Linked DNA regions of Homo sapiens: region 2 is linked to region 1. The links are contacts of gene promoters, found by promoter capture Hi-C in blood cells and fetal thymus (Javierre and others, 2016). All regions are on one chromosome and are shown on one strand. The core of a region is centred on a gene start or on the middle of the fragment in contact, and the rest is flanking DNA. Distances in the headings are between cores, read along the strand shown.

Evidence for each region. The method cuts DNA at HindIII sites, captures the fragments that hold promoters and counts their contacts. A CHiCAGO score of 5 or more calls a contact.
Region 2: a fragment that was not itself captured here is called in contact with the fragment with the promoter of H1-4 in region 1 in 11 of 17 cell types (total B cells, naive B cells, activated CD4 T cells and 8 more); the score reaches 19.2 in total B cells.

Annotation. Positions count from the first base shown.
Region 1 is chr6:26,152,897-26,157,600 of GRCh38, reverse strand. H1-4 (H1.4 linker histone, cluster member) reads right to left here and starts at 1,272. Exons shown (of 1, transcript NM_005321.3): 1 at 486-1,272. The coding sequence starts at 1,210. The coding sequence ends at 551. RefSeq lists enhancers at 1-39, 769-848, 1,109-1,268, 793-1,544 and a silencer at 429-478. The HindIII fragment of the contact is 19,818 bases long and covers 1-4,704 here.
Region 2 is chr6:27,153,651-27,158,461 of GRCh38, reverse strand. It overlaps TRH-GTG1-5 (tRNA-His (anticodon GTG) 1-5), which reads right to left and starts at 335; the gene lies at 264-335. RefSeq lists a silencer at 175-224. The HindIII fragment of the contact is 1,152 bases long and covers 1,271-2,422 here.

The DNA of each region.
Region 1 (4,704 bases), core at 23-2,522:
CTCCCCAAGCACTTGAAATGTAGCCCTTCGGAAATAATGTCAGTACTATGCCACTTGTCCTAAGACGTACTCCTCTGAAGTCCCTCACTGCCTGCCATACTCGATAGGGATAACCAGTAGGCTTGTAACCAGCACAGAAACTGATACACTGTGCCGTGTTTGGAACTCGGAAAAACCCAGCTTAGAAACCCGGGAAAATCCCAACATTTTTTTTCCCATGCTATCTGGAGGCCAGGGCCTGCTAAAAGTGCAAAGCACAAGGGAGGCCCAAATGGGTTCAACTCCGACACTCGAGAACGCAAAATCGAGATGACGCCACTGCACTCCGGCTTGGGCGACGCGACGCCTTAGTCAAAAATAGCTCCGGAGACACACAAAATCCCACTCCTCTCCCCGACTTTGTTCCCGGGAGACCCGCCCCTGCTTAGCAGCGTTTTCCCGAGCCACGCCCCCTAATAGTGCAACAGCTCTTTTACTGAGAGCGGTGGGTGGCTCTGAAAAGAGCCTTTGGGTTGTGTTGGGCTTCTAAGCAGTTGGCCAAAGGAACTTTCTACTTTTTCTTGGCTGCCGCCTTCTTTGGCTTGGCTGCCTTGGGCTTGGCGGTCTTTGGTTTAGCCGCCTTGGGTTTAACTGCTTTGGCCTTCGCTGGGCTCTTGGGCGCCTTTTTTGGCTTGGCTGCTTTCGCCTTTTTCGGGCTTTTCGCTTTTTTGGCTCCAGCAGCTGCAGCCGGCTTCTTCGCCTTCTTTGGGGTCTTCTTGGCGCTCTTCTTGGGGGTGGCCGCCCCCGTCGCCTTCTTGGGCTTCTTCGCCGCTCCTGCTGGCTTCTTGGCCTTGGCCGCGCCTGCCTTTTTAGCCTTAGGCTTGGCTTCCCCAGAGGCCGCCTTCTTGTTGAGTTTGAAGGAACCCGACGCGCCGGTGCCCTTGGTCTGCACCAGGGTGCCCTTGCTCACCAGGCTCTTGAGACCCAGCTTGATGCGGCTGTTGTTCTTCTCCACGTCATAGCCAGCGGCTGCCAGCGCTTTCTTGAGAGCGGCCAAAGATACGCCGCTGCGCTCCTTGGAGGCGGCAACAGCTTTAGTAATGAGCTCGGACACCGGGGGCCCAGACGCTTTGCGCTTGGCCGCACCTGCAGACTTGCGGGCCTTCTTCTTCACGGGAGTCTTCTCGGCAGGGGCCGGAGCAGCGGGCGCGGCAGGCGCAGTCTCGGACATGTTGAAGGCAAGCGTGAGCGAGAGCAATTCGAGCCGGAAGCAGAGGCACTGGCCGGGACTCGAGCCGCGGCGCTGCGCCCGCCCGTTTATATAGGGCGGAGCTGCGCCGTGATTGGTGCGCTGTCCAGCCCGCCTCGCTGGCAGCCGCAGAGTGTCCTCTCGGATCCCGAGTTGTGTTTGTTACACCTCAAAAAAAGCCAAAAATATAAAAATTGTCTACACCGAACTGCCCGGTTTTTCTCAGATAATGATCCCCGAACCCTCAGGCTTCACGCAGATCTCAAATTATAAGGGAAGCACAAAGCCTTGTGCCAAAAACTTGCAATATTTCCCGCCGTGCTTGGCAAATTTCAACTCAGAGAAACAAAACTTTCTATTTTCTTCGTAAATTATAAACCGATCTTTAACTGTGGACTTTTCTGACCTCTCAAATATGATACTCCAAGTGGTTAGCTTCTTATATATCCAAAAAGCATGCCACTGGCATTAAGATTTTTATTACAAATCTGCACTTAAGTGAGGGAAGTAACACAGGCTCCTCGGAGAGTCCTGCCTATTGAGCCGAGGGCATTTGAGTTCATCAAACTGGTTTAGTTTAATGCCAAACAAATTATTGCCCATTTGAGATTAAGTTTTGGACCCCTGGGACATCAATCTATACAGCCATGGTTTTACATCTGTCCGCTACATCTGAGTTTTTAAACAATTCTTTGGATAATTCTTTCCCTTTCTGCTCCCAAGGGTTGGGGGCGGGGCTGTTGCTTCTCTCTTCCTCTGGACAATTGCTCCATGGATTGAGATACCTTGAATTCAGGGTATTTGGGAACGAAGGGAAGTCCAAAATGTACTCAGGGTACAGAGATGAAAAAGGATTAATTTTCAAATGTGATGTTCATAAAGTCACTGGAAGTGGAGGTGCACTTTACTTTAAAGCATTTGTCTGCAGCCTTGCTGAGTGCTTTTGGCATATGCTTCAGAACCAAATTGCAATAAAGTAGCTTAGAGCTGAAATTCAAGCATTGATGATAAGGCAAAATAAATAAGAAACGTAGATTGAAACATCTACTCCCATTATTAGTGAAACCCAGCCCCTATTATTACTGAATAGTTGAGGAATGACTAGTCCACTCACCACGTATGGTTTCAATCCCCCTGAAGATTGTATTCCAATGCTTCCCAGAGCTCAATAGAAAGAAAAATAAGTGACATGTAGTGATTAAACGACAAGTTCAAATTTCGATCTCAGAAGTAGAGCTTTGAGAGTCTATCTAAGCTATTATAAATCATTGCCCTCTGAAAACATCCTTTGAACAATGTCTGAGTGAATTTCTTTAGGTAGTTGCCCAATCAAGAAGAGTGTATGTAAGCTGGCAATGAAAGCCCAACCAAAAGAATTATTTCTGGTCCGGGCGCGGTGGCTCACGCCTGTAATCCCAGCACTTTGGGAGGCCGAGACGGGCGGATCACGAGGTCAGGAGATCAAGACCATCCTGGCTAACACGGTGAAACCCTGTATCTACTAAAAGTACAAAAAATTAGCCGGGTGCGGTGGCGGGCGCCTGCAGTCCCAGCTACTCGGGAGACTGAGGCAGGAGAATGGCGTGAACCCGGGAGGCGGAGCTTGCAGTGAGCCTAGATAGTGCCACTGCAGTCAGGCCTAGGCGAAAGAGCAAGACTCCGTCTCAAAAAAAAAAAAAAAAAGAATTTTTTCTGAAAAACGATATGGCTGGAACAGTATGGGTGGAACTACAAGCCACTTATCATGGAAACAAAATAAAATTTTGCCCAGTGCTATAAGGTGATATGATACTGTTCTGTGGACGTGGTTGATTGTAATATGGCGTTGGATATCATTTTAAATTTTAATTTCATTGCCCAAAATCTCCAGACACAAATTCTGCTACTGAAATAAGGAGAATATAGAATTTTGATATAACACGAGTGAAATGTATCAAAACAGTACTGTTTAATGTTGAATTTGTTATAAAAGTGATGTAAATTATCAATGTTTTTAATATCTTGATGTGTATTTTCAATCTAATTATTGCACATCAGTGCAAAAATAAATATGCCCTTTGGTATTTATTGAAATAAAAAGGGAGATGGATAAATCTCCAAAACAGACTAGGGAAACTGATTATATGGGCATTTGATTCCAGAATGGTAATATTATACCTATTTAATGACAACAAAAACCACTCCTGTAAATGACTGAAACTTACACAACACATGGAAGTTTGCTTTCACATGCCTCACTTTATCCAGTGTATTCCTCATGGCTAGGAAGGAGTTAAACTCTCCAAATTCTGTGGTCTTTCAACTTCCACTGCTTGCCTCCTTAAGGTGTGGTGTGTTTTCTTTACTTTACTTTTCTTTTCTTTTTTTGAGACAGAGTCTCACTGTGTCACCCAGGCTGGAGTGCAATGGCGCGATCTTGGTTCACTGCAACCACTGCCTCTGCCTCCAAATGCATGGGCTGGGAGAGGTGGCTCACGCCGGTAATCCTAGCACTTTGAGATGCTGAGGCGAATGGATGACTTGAGATCAGGAGTCCGAGGCCAGCCTGACCAACAAGGTGAAACCCCATCTCTGCTAAAATAAAATAATAATAATAATAATAATAATAATAATAATAATAGTTAGGTGTGGTGGTGTAATCCCAGCTACTCGGGAGGCTGAGGCAGGAAAAGCCCTTGAACCAGGAAGGCGGAGGTTGCAGTGAACGTGCTCTCGAGCCTTGGTGACAGAGATTGAGGATTGACCACTATGAAATCAAGCATCTATTTGACACTTGTCGGTGATGAAATAGGAACAATAACAAAAGGCCTTACTTTCTTATTGGTCAGCGGGCTGGCTATCTCAGAACTAGGCGTGTGTGCACACACACATGTTCATGCATGTGTTCTATTTTTTATTTTGTTATTATTTTTTTGAGATGGAGTTTCGCTCTTGTCACCGAGGCTAGAGTGCAATCAATGGAGCGATTTCTGCTCACTGCAAAGTCCACTTCCCGGGTTCAAGCGATTCTCCTGTCTCAGCCGCCCAAGTAGCTGGGATTACAGGTGCCCGCCACCACACCCAGCTAATTTTTGTATTTTTAGTAGAGACAGGGTTTCACCATGTTGGTCAGGCTGGTCTCCAACTCCTGATATCAGGTGATCCACCCGCCTCGGCCTCCCAAACTGCTGGGATTACAGGTATGAACCACCCAGTCATGCATGTGTTTTAAACATAGATTCTGAGGCCTTGCTCAAGATTATTCTGACATAATAACTCTTCAGTAGGTCCTCAGAATCTGAATATTTATCAGTTTTCTCATGCCACTCTTATGCCGAGCCAAGTTTGGCAACTCTGCTGAACTCACTAGAGATGACCAATAGGGCAAATGTGCTTCCTGTCACGTGAGTTCTCCCAGGGATTTCTGGGCGTGTCTGTGAGATCTTAGAAAAGATATCCATGCTGAATATGACCATATATTGGAAAGACGGGGACAG
Region 2 (4,811 bases), core at 597-3,096, 1.0 Mb before region 1:
GTAGGGCTTGGGTAGGGTTGGGAAGAGAATCTTTGGAGAGGGGAAAAAAAAGACAAGGCAACAAGCGTAGACACTCTCTGCTTGGCTGACTGGTTGGGGCACCATGATGAATACTAGTGTTTTTTGTGTACAGATTAGATCGTAAGTCAATTCAATTTTGCAAGGGTTTTTCCGAGACTGTCTCCACTCCAGTATGTTGAAAAATTGAGGCGACGTCAAGGTACTGCTCAGTACGTTGAGAAATTGAGGCGACATCAAGGTACTGCCGTGACTCGGATTCGAACCGAGGTTGCTGCGGCCACAACGCAGAGTACTAACCACTATACGATCACGGCACGCCACCAGAGGCCGCTGCTTGTGGGGCTCTTCCTTTGCTTATTTCCCAGAAACGTCTGTTTTTGTCATCTAAAGAATGGTGCAGTCTTTCGTCCTTATTTACACACCTACCCAGTTTACTTCCTTATCCACTCCCCGTCCCCAATATTTTGCTTATGGCAAAGAAGCCAAAGGTAACACATTAAGTTTCATTATATGGAATTTTCCCAGCGTGGTGGTTGTTTTTGGGGGTTGGTAATACTGTGCTTGTAAACTCATTATTCTCACTTCTATCTCCAACCCACGCATGTTTCTTGCTCAGTTTAGCAGTGTGGTCCTCAGATCTTTGGCAACAAAAGGAAGAGGGCGCTGCTTTGAAGTGGACCTGCCAGATCCCATTTTTTGCCAAACTAGTCAGAATCTTCGGGGGCTTGGCATGGAATCTGGCATCTCGACAGGTGCCAGAAGTGAGTTTCTCATCACGAGGAACTATGTGGCTTCGTCCTGACCCAGGTACCTATGAGAAGCCAGTGAGGCGCTCGCGCACTCAGCCTGCCCACCTGAGCCGTCAGGAAATGTCCGGCGGCGCTCGCACCTCAGAGTGAAATTTCTTTCTCCCTTTCATACCTAGTTTGCCAGAAGAGGGAGATAAAAGTGCCTCTCCTGTGGCTCCAAAGCTCCGTGGGACTTCCCTCCTGCCCCGCTTGCTGTTTTAGGAACGTAGCCTCTAGAGTCAAGGTCCTGGTCGTGTTTTCCCCTTGATACCAAATGATTTTCTTTCTGTAAAATCATTCTGGTCTTAAACTCCTGAACTCAACTGATCCGCCCCTCTCGGCTTCCCAAAGCGCTAGGATTACAGGAGTGAGCCACCGCGCCCGGCCTCTTCTCTTTACCTGGTTAAATTTGTTTAATGCTTCAGCTTCAACTCAAGAAAGCTTTTCAAATCAAGGAAGCTTTTCTTGACCTCCCGTCTCCACGCAACACATGGTTCCTTGGTTTTTTTTTTTTCCTTCCCTCCCTTCTTTCCCTCCTTCCTTCCTTCCTCTCTCCCTCCCTCCTTCCCTCTCTCTTTCTTTTCTTTTCTTCTTTCCTTCCTTCTTTCTTTCTCTCTCTCTCATTCTCTTTCTTCCTTCCTTCCTTTTCTTTCTTTCTTTCTCTTTCTTCTTCTTTTTTTTTTTCTCAGAGTCTCGCTCTGTTGCCCAGGCTGGAGGGCAATGACACAATCTCGACTCATTGCAACCTCCACCTCCCGGGTTCAAGCGATTCTCCTGCCTCAGCCTCCCGAGTAGCTGGGATTACAGGCGTAAGCTACTACGCAGGGCTAATTTTTGTATTTTTATTAGAGAGGGGGTTTCACCATGTTGGCCAGGCTGATCTATAACTCCTGACTTCAAGTGATCCACCCGCCTCGGGCTCCCAAAGTGCTGGGATTACAGGCGTGAGCCATCATGCCCGGCCACTTGATTCTTTTTCACTTTTCCTTTAGTGCTCTTATATCAGTTTGTAATGTATAATACCAGAGTTATTTGATTAATGTCAGCCTCCATCCTCCCGCTCCATATGCCCCAAGACGAGGAATATCTATTTTGTTCAATAATCTATCACTAGGGCTCCCCATTTGGTAGGTTCTTTATCAATATAGTTTGGCTGCAGAATGAATGAATGGGTGGGCAGAGACTACCATCCAAAGCTCTATGAAAGCAACTTCTCCCAGCAGCATCTGGCCTAGTTCAGCAGGCTTGCCTTTTGACCTTTGATGGGAAAAGATTGGTAATAATTTAAAGAAAGGTTGGGAGGTCAAGACAGGAGTATTGCTTGAGGCCATGAATTTGAATCAAGTTTGGGCAACATAGTGAGACCCTGTCTCTACAAAAAAAATAAAAAAATTTAACCAGGCACAGAGGTGCATGCCTGTAGTCCCCATTACAAGGGAGGCTGAGGCAGGAGGATCACTTGAATCCAGGAGTTTGAGGTTGCAGTGAGCTATGATTGTGCCTCTGCACTGCAGCCTGGGCTACAGAGCAAGATCCTCCCTCTAAAATAATAATAATAAATTTAAAAATGAAGGGAGTTCAAAATTACCCCTGCAGCTATCCATAATAAAGCTTCTCAGCAGAGCCAAAATAATGTGCTTAATTTCCTAAAATTTTCTTTATCTCCTTTCCTCTGTCTGGATTACACAAAAGTATTCTAATTACTAATAGGTTTACTGAATGAAGAATTACCTGTTTCCTAGCATCATTGTTATTATTATTATTATTATTATTATTATTATTATTATTTTATTTTATTTTATTTTTTGAGATGGAGTCTCGCTCTGTCGCCCAGGCTGGAGGGCAGTGGTGCGATCTTGGCTCACTGCAACCTCCGCCTCCTGGGTTCAAGTGATTCTCCTGCCTCAGCCTCTTGAGCAGCTGGGACTACAGGCGCGTGACACCACGACTGGCTAATTTTTTGTATTTTTAGTAGAGACGGGTTTTCACTGTTTCAGACAGGATGATCTCGATCTCCTGACCTTATGATCCGCCCACCTCCGCCACCCAAAGTGCTGGGATTACAGGCATGAGCCACCGCACCCAGCCCTAACATTAATTTGTTTGATCAGGGAAGTGACCTAAGGGCTTTCTCAGTCTCAAAGACATGAGCTCCATCAAAGAAAATGCAGCCAGTAAGAAGGAAATGCAAGCTGCCTCTGTCTCAAGTCTCTTTGAGTTAGATCTTTCCTTTTCCTTTGCTTAGGGCCTTCCCCAACCCCATTTAGAAAGCTGCTGTGAATGAAAGTGCTTTTCAGCATTTTCTGCTGGGATGTTTTTGGAAATTGGGTTGATCTGCATGTGCTTCTCCATAAAAAGAGGGAAAAGCTGTATCTTTGATGTCATAGGCCTAGAAAAAGGCCTCTTTCCTTGTGCTTATTTTGGAAGGCCATTTTGAAGATTTCATCTGACACATTCACTACAGTGATTCTGGGAAGAATAAGAGACAGGCTGGCACAGTTGAACCTACCAGTTCTACCTTTACCAATGCCATGCACTCTTCTACTTCTGAATTTCTAAATTTTCTGTAAGAAATAATTAAAAGCCCTCTTTCTTTCAAGGGCATAGTTCCAGCAATATTTTCCTCTTTCTCCTGTATTATTAAATAAAATTCTATTTGATCTCTATAGGATCTTTCGCATCAGCATTCAAAGCTGCTTTTATTTCTTTCATCTGAAAGAATTGTTCTCTTGCTTTCACTTTTCCTTTCTGCTATTGATAGTACTGTCTTTCAGTTTATAGCCATATTTCCTTGAAGTGTCATCAAACCCAAATCTTCTTTCATCTCATTTCTTTATTACACTCCTTCATCTTGCTTTCTTCTTCAACACTCCACTTAAACTGATCTTTTACATTTCACTAGTTGAAATGGCTATGTTAGTCCTCAACTTATATGATTTCTCAACACTATTTGATACATTGGATTTCTACCTCCTCTTAGAAACTGCTGTGGTCTGAATGTGTTCCCCAAAATTCTTATGTTGATAGTTAATTGCCAATGTGATAGTATTAATAAGTATTAAAACAGTGGCCAATATGTAGAGCCATCTCTCCATATCTAGAATGCACATGTCTGGGACTCAAGAAGTAGAGGTGTGAGTGGCACTTCTCATTATTCCTCAGTGATCCATTCAGACAATTTTGTATCCTATCCCTGTGACCTTGATCGAGCTCTGAGGGAATGGGTGTCTTTGTGCCCAGTGGATAAATATTTCCACTAGAGAGCATTGTCACCTTTCAAATCAATTGAAACCTGAAAACTGCTTCTGGCCATTTTAGTCTTTTCATGCCACTGAACCAATATGCAGGGAAAAGTGTCCCTCTACTTGGAGTGATTGCTTCCAGTTTCTAGGAGGTAGTTTGGTGTCTGCTGTACAGTGGAGGTTAAAGAAAACAAAAAACAAACAAACAAACAAACATTACTAATCCAGAGAAGTCTCTAAATGTTTTTTGCCCACAAGCCATGGTCAATTAAAAATTGTGACAATGAGATAAAGAAAAGATCACAAGGACACAGATCCCACAGGAATAAAGGCATATTTTATACTACCATGTAAAGAATTCAGCCAACATGCTGACAGAAGTCAGGATAACAAGAAATGAATTTTATTTTTATTTATTCATTTATTTTTGAGATAGGGTCTCATTTCATTGCCCAGGCTGGTGCCCAGGCTGGGGTGTAGTGGCATGATCATGGCTCACTGCAGTCTCAACCTCCCGGGCTCAGGTGATTCTCCTACCTCAGCCTCCCCAATAGTTGGGAGTACAGGCATACACCACTATGCCTGGCTAATTTTTTGTATTTTGTGTAGAGTCAGAATCTCGCCATTTTGCCCAGTCTCATGTTAAACTCCTGGGCTCAAGTGAGCTGCTCCCCTTAGCCTCCCAAAGTGCTGGGATTACAGGCATGAGCCACCACACCTGGCCTAAGAAATGAATTTTAGAAGGAAGCTGTGATTACTA